2 separate regions of the Homo sapiens genome follow, and region 2 is linked to region 1. Evidence: promoter capture Hi-C in human tissues and cell types (Jung and others, 2019). All regions are on one chromosome and are shown on one strand. The core of a region is centred on a gene start or on the middle of the fragment in contact, and the rest is flanking DNA. Distances in the headings are between cores, read along the strand shown. Region 1 holds the start of SMARCC2 (SWI/SNF related BAF chromatin remodeling complex subunit C2). Region 2 holds the start of APOF (apolipoprotein F).

The links. Contacts are between HindIII fragments. The study calls those that stand out against the background at their distance.
Region 2: a contact is called between the fragment with the promoter of APOF here and the fragment with the promoter of SMARCC2 in region 1, in 1 of the 25 tissues and cell types used here (liver).

The regions. Positions count from the first base shown.
Region 1 is chr12:56,188,060-56,190,759 of GRCh38, reverse strand. It overlaps SMARCC2 (SWI/SNF related BAF chromatin remodeling complex subunit C2), which reads left to right and starts at 1,277. Exons shown (of 29, transcript NM_001330288.2): 1 at 1,277-1,409. The coding sequence starts at 1,299. TRS-CGA4-1 (tRNA-Ser (anticodon CGA) 4-1) reads right to left here and starts at 396; the gene lies at 315-396. It overlaps LOC107984468 (a long non-coding RNA gene), which reads right to left and starts at 68. Exons shown (of 2, transcript XR_007063330.1): 1 at 1-68. RefSeq lists an enhancer at 631-730 and silencers at 971-1,250, 1,321-1,540. The HindIII fragment of the contact is 6,976 bases long and covers 1-2,700 here.
Region 2 is chr12:56,361,302-56,364,160 of GRCh38, reverse strand. APOF (apolipoprotein F) reads left to right here and starts at 1,304. Exons shown (of 2, transcript NM_001638.4): 1 at 1,304-1,431; 2 at 1,972-2,859. The coding sequence starts at 1,416. The HindIII fragment of the contact is 13,203 bases long and covers 1-1,716 here.

The DNA of each region.
Region 1 (2,700 bases), core at 28-2,527:
AGGGGTTAAAAAAGTCGACGCCTGTAATCCCAGCATTTTGGGAGGCCGAGGCGGGCAGATAACCTGAGGTCAGGAGTTTGAGACCAGCCTGGCCAATATGGTGAACCTGTCTCTACTAAAAATACAAAAATTAGCCAGGTATGGTGACGCATGCCTGTGGTCCCAGCTACTCGGGAAGCTAAGGCAGGAGAATTGCTTGAACCCGGGAAGCGGAGGTTGCGGTGAGCCGAGATCGCGCCACTGCACTCCAGCCTGAGCAACAGAGCGAGACTCCCTTTTAATAATAAGAAGAAGAAAGAAAAAAAAAAAAAACCCGTCACGAACAGGATTCGAACCTGTGCGGGGAAACCCCATTGGATTTCGAGTCCAACGCCTTAACCACTCGGCCACCGTGACTTCCAAAACCGCGCTTTATCGCGCGCTTACAGAAGGGGTCCGCACTGCAATCCGGGAATGCGTGCGGGAACCGGAAGCAGGGTACCGGCCCCGACACACACACACCTGAGGACTCCCCACCCCTCGGTTCCTTACCTCCTATCTACGCCACCCAAAGAAAAAGAGTCGGATGGACTGGGTGACCCAGGGAGGGAGGGTCTCCTGCCTAGCGAAGAGTCGGGGTCTCGAGTAGGAGCTCACACCTACTTAGGAGGCGACAGCGAGGCCTGCGGAGGAAGCAGTTGAGGGAAGGCACTGGGCCGCCAGGGTGGCGACTAGGGGACATTTGGGTTAACAAGTGAGGGGAGTGCTGGGTGGACAAGGCGCGAGGAGTGAGGGAGACTCTGAAAAGTTTAAATGGGGAGCTGCTGTGAATGGATGGAAGGAAGGAACTTCTTGGGGAAAGGGGTTTGGGGTTTTGGGGGACGAGGGGCTTCGTCGGGTTAGGAATGCGCAAGGTGAGGACCACTCGGGTCTACGGGTTGGGGCTGCTCCAGCGACTGGCGGCCGCCTGGAGTGGGATAGCGAGGTGACACTCCCGAGCTGAGGCAAAAAGAGGGAAAGGGCTTCGCGTCTGGTAAGAGCGATCTCAGGAGAATGGCGCCCCCTCCAGGAAGCGTCCTTCTCCCCGGAGGCTCCCGCCTCCGCTGCCGGGGAGGCCGCCAGGGTCGGCCCGCGCCTGGAGCTCCGCCGCCGCGCCCGGCCTGCCGGCAGGGGGCGCAGCGCGGACCGGGGCCGGCCCAGGCGGCGGGAGGCGGCGGCCGCGGCGGCGGGAGGCGGCGGGAGGCGGGCGGAGGAGGAGGCGGAGGAGGCGGGAGCTGAGCTGAGTGGGGCGGGCGGCGGCGGGGCCCGAGCCGGAGAAGATGGCGGTGCGGAAGAAGGACGGCGGCCCCAACGTGAAGTACTACGAGGCCGCGGACACCGTGACCCAGTTCGACAACGTGCGGCTGTGGCTCGGCAAGAACTACAAGAAGGTACGCGGGCCGGGCCGGGCCGCGCGGGGACCGGGGGCGGGACAAAGGGACCGCGGCCCTGCAGCCCCGGGATCCTGCCTACCCTCCAGGCGCCCCAGCCCCTCCCCCGCGGCCTCCCAAGCAGCCCCCCGCGCGCCCTCCTGCGCTCCCGCGCCCCTCCCCCAGCCTCCCTCTCCCCGCACCCCCAGCCTCTGAGCCCAGCCCCCGCCCCCACTGCTGCGCCCTCTGCCCCTTGTTTTTCTCTACTGCCCGGCGGGCCCCGGTGCCATTAGCCCACCTTCCCCTCAGCCATCGCCCTCCTGGCTTTTCTGGGAGAGGCGGCCGGCCGGGTGTGGACCGGGTGCCCAATGGGCTCCCCCGCAACCCGGAGCGTGCCCGCCAGAGCTCCCCACGGAGCCAGGTACCAGCGGGGCTGAGGCCTCTCCGGTGCTTTGTGTATGTTCAGAGAGAGAGAATGGAAAGCAGGAGGGTAAACAGTCACAGAGCAAGCCGTTGGCTGCTCATCAGCCTGAAAAAGGTCTCCACCCAGGGATCACCTGTCTCCGCCGCTCATCCCCCACCTTCATCTAAGGGGCAACAGAATCTCTCAGGGAGCCGGGGTATAGGAGTTCCTGGGTAGCGGCCCCTTCCGAAACCTTTCCTCGATTTTACAATGAAGTCACCTTGCAACCTAGCTTTGCAGTACCCTGGGTTTGGGGTCGAGAGGTTAGGGTGAGCTTCCTATCTCTAGCCCCTCACACCCAAACCCCATAACTGGAGATCATAAGGTGGTGAACAAAAGGTTCAAGAATCCTTACCTGTCTTTTCTACCAAACCTCTTCCTGGTGTCGTCTTTGTCTCTAGGCCTGGTTTTCTCTGGAAATGGTCTGCCTCTCTTTTTCTCACTACCCTCAGAGAGGGATTCTCTTTATGGCTTTCTTTCAGCTCCCCAGTTCTTCCTGCCGGCTTTGCAGCTCGTCAGAAGTGTGCTTAGTGGCTTAGGAGAACTTCCTACTGATGCTGGTTGTGAGCCTGGCCCTGCCCTTGGGGTCTCTCTGGGTGTGAGAATCCTGACAAATAGCTGCTATTTCTATGGCATGTCTCTACGCCTGTGAGAGGCTCTTATTCCCAGGCTTCTACCTTTGACCTTTTGCAGGGAGATCAGGCTAGGGGCTTAGCCTCCGGCCTTGGGGGAATTGACAGTTGTGACCTGGTTCAGCTTCCATGCTCTTAGCTCTTTGTCATTTACCTTTCCCTTCACAGATCTATCTCTTTTCACCTCTCACTGAGAGGCACTGTCTTCTTTGTGATG
Region 2 (2,859 bases), core at 55-2,554, 170 kb before region 1:
CCCCCTCCCTAGCCCCTCTGCCTGAGTACCTGTCCAACTTAGCTCTGAGGGTGCCCTTGGAGGAGGTGGGCTGCCCAACTGAGGCCCATGTTCTGCAGTTTCAGATGCGAGGAAAGGATACCACTGAAACCCTCATCCGTGAGAGTCAAAAAGTTCAATGGGGAGGAAGGCAATACCAACATCATTGTGACGAATCTAGTAGTCCCTTAGGGAAGTGTGAATAAACCCAGCACCCAGCTGCCCATCCTGGGAAATGTATGGATGGTGGCAAATATACCCACTGGGGTAGCTGGCCTACCAGGTAGCTCAGATGGTGATTGAGTTTGCTGAGAAACCATCTCCCATGATGCTTGGTGTCACAGTTCAAAGTTTTGGGTGTCCACATCACCAAGAACTGCAGGTATGAGTCTTGGGAGCATATTGAAGAATTAGGCAAAAAGTTGAAGAAGCTCTCAAGATCATTTAAATTGTCCATGGACAGTGACAATATAATCTATCAAATGTTCCACAGCTATTCTGAAGTGCTTTGTGAGGAAAATGATCCAGGAATTGATCCCGGCTCATTTCAGCTATTCAATATCACATAAGTAATGAGTCTCCTTTCCCAGGACTGTATTCAAGGATGGCACACAGTAAGTAGTTAGAAATGTTGGAGACCACTTAGGACAGATGAATGCTCTTTATTTCACCTCTTCCCTTAAACACATATGTGACCAGTGTTAGCCTTGCCCCTCTCCACTTAGTAGGTGTCAGCTCCCCTCCTTTTTTTTTTTTAAGACGGAGTCTCACTCTGTCACCCAGGCTGGAGTGCAGTAGTGCGATCTTGGCTTACTGCAACCTCCACCTCCCGGGTTCAAGCAATTCTCCTGCCTCAGCCTCCTGAGTAGCTGGGACTACAGACGCCCACCACCACGCCTGGGTGTATATATATATATATATATATATATATTTTTTTTTTTTTAGTAGAGACAGGGTTTCACCATATTGGCCAGGCTGGTCTCGAACTCCTGACCTTGTGATCCGCCCGCCTTGGCCTCCCAAAGTGCTGGGATTACAGGCGTGAGCCACCATGCTCAGCCGCTAATTTAATTTTTAAAATGAAGAGAAATGAGAGTATCACAAACATCTCATCTTTCCTAATTCTGAATTTCCCTGGCTCCTATCATGAGCTTAGAGTGGGAATGTGGCAGGGACATACAGGAAATGCCAAAGAACAGGACTGTAGGCATAGAGGTTGAGTGTGTGACAAGGGGCACAAGGTTTGAGCAGCCAGTATAAATGGGCAAATATTTGCAGAGATTACATCCTTCACTGATCATAGGGGAAAGCAAATATCTCCTTTCCTCATGGGACACAGAACTAGGCAGAACAGGATCAGGAAGCGATCAAACCTACCAAGGCAGTCTCACTTCTCAATGACTGGACTGTGTGGTAATTTGGGGTCCCTATATATGGGTGGAAATAAAACAGAAGTCCCTGGTGACCTGTAAATGGGGGAGACCAAGTGGGAGCAACTGGGGTGCATTTCCTATTTCCTAGGCCTTTACCTAAAAAGAACAGAAGCTTGGGGCCAGGCGCGGTGGCTCACATCTGGAAGCCTATCACTTTGGGAGGCGGAGGTGGAAGGATCACTTGAGCCCAAAGTTCAGAACTAGGCTGGGCCAGATGGCAAAACCACGTCTCTACAAAAAATTTAAAAATTAGCTGGGCATGGTGTCACGCACCTGTAGTCCCAGCTGCTTGGGAGGCTGAGGCAGGAGGATCCCTCGAGCCCAGGAATTCAAGGCAGCAGTGATTTGTGATCCCATCACTGCACTCTAGTCTGGGCAACAGAGCAAGACCCTGTCTCTAAAAAGAAAGTACAAAAGCTTGGAAGCAGGTGATGTATGAGGTGTCCCCCTAACTGAGTCTTGGGCTCACCATCGCCCTTAGGGAAATGGTTTGTATGTTTCGGATTTCTCCCCTTTCTAGGGTACTCTGCTCCAGACATGCGTGGCCTCAGACTCATCATGATACCAGTTGAGCTGCTACTTTGCTACCTCCTGCTGCACCCTGTGGATGCCACTTCATATGGAAAGCAGACAAATGTCTTGATGCACTTTCCCTTGTCCTTGGAATCCCAGACACCCTCCTCAGACCCCTTGTCCTGCCAATTTCTGCACCCAAAGTCACTGCCTGGTTTCAGCCACATGGCCCCTCTACCCAAGTTCTTGGTAAGCCTGGCTCTAAGGAATGCCCTGGAGGAAGCTGGTTGTCAGGCTGATGTTTGGGCTCTACAGCTACAGCTCTACCGCCAGGGTGGTGTGAATGCTACACAGGTCCTCATCCAGCATCTTCGAGGGCTCCAGAAAGGCAGAAGCACAGAGAGGAACGTGTCAGTGGAAGCCCTGGCCTCTGCTCTGCAGCTGTTAGCCAGGGAGCAGCAAAGCACAGGAAGGGTCGGGCGCTCCCTCCCGACAGAGGACTGTGAGAATGAGAAGGAGCAAGCTGTGCACAATGTAGTCCAGCTGCTGCCAGGAGTGGGAACCTTCTACAACCTGGGCACAGCTTTGTATTATGCTACTCAAAACTGCCTGGGCAAGGCCAGGGAACGAGGCCGAGATGGGGCCATAGATCTGGGATATGACCTTCTGATGACCATGGCTGGGATGTCAGGGGGGCCTATGGGTCTAGCGATCAGTGCTGCACTTAAACCTGCATTAAGGTCTGGGGTTCAGCAGTTGATCCAGTATTACCAAGATCAGAAAGACGCAAACATCTCTCAGCCGGAGACCACCAAGGAGGGTTTGAGGGCCATCTCAGATGTGAGTGACTTGGAAGAAACAACTACTCTGGCTTCTTTCATATCAGAAGTAGTAA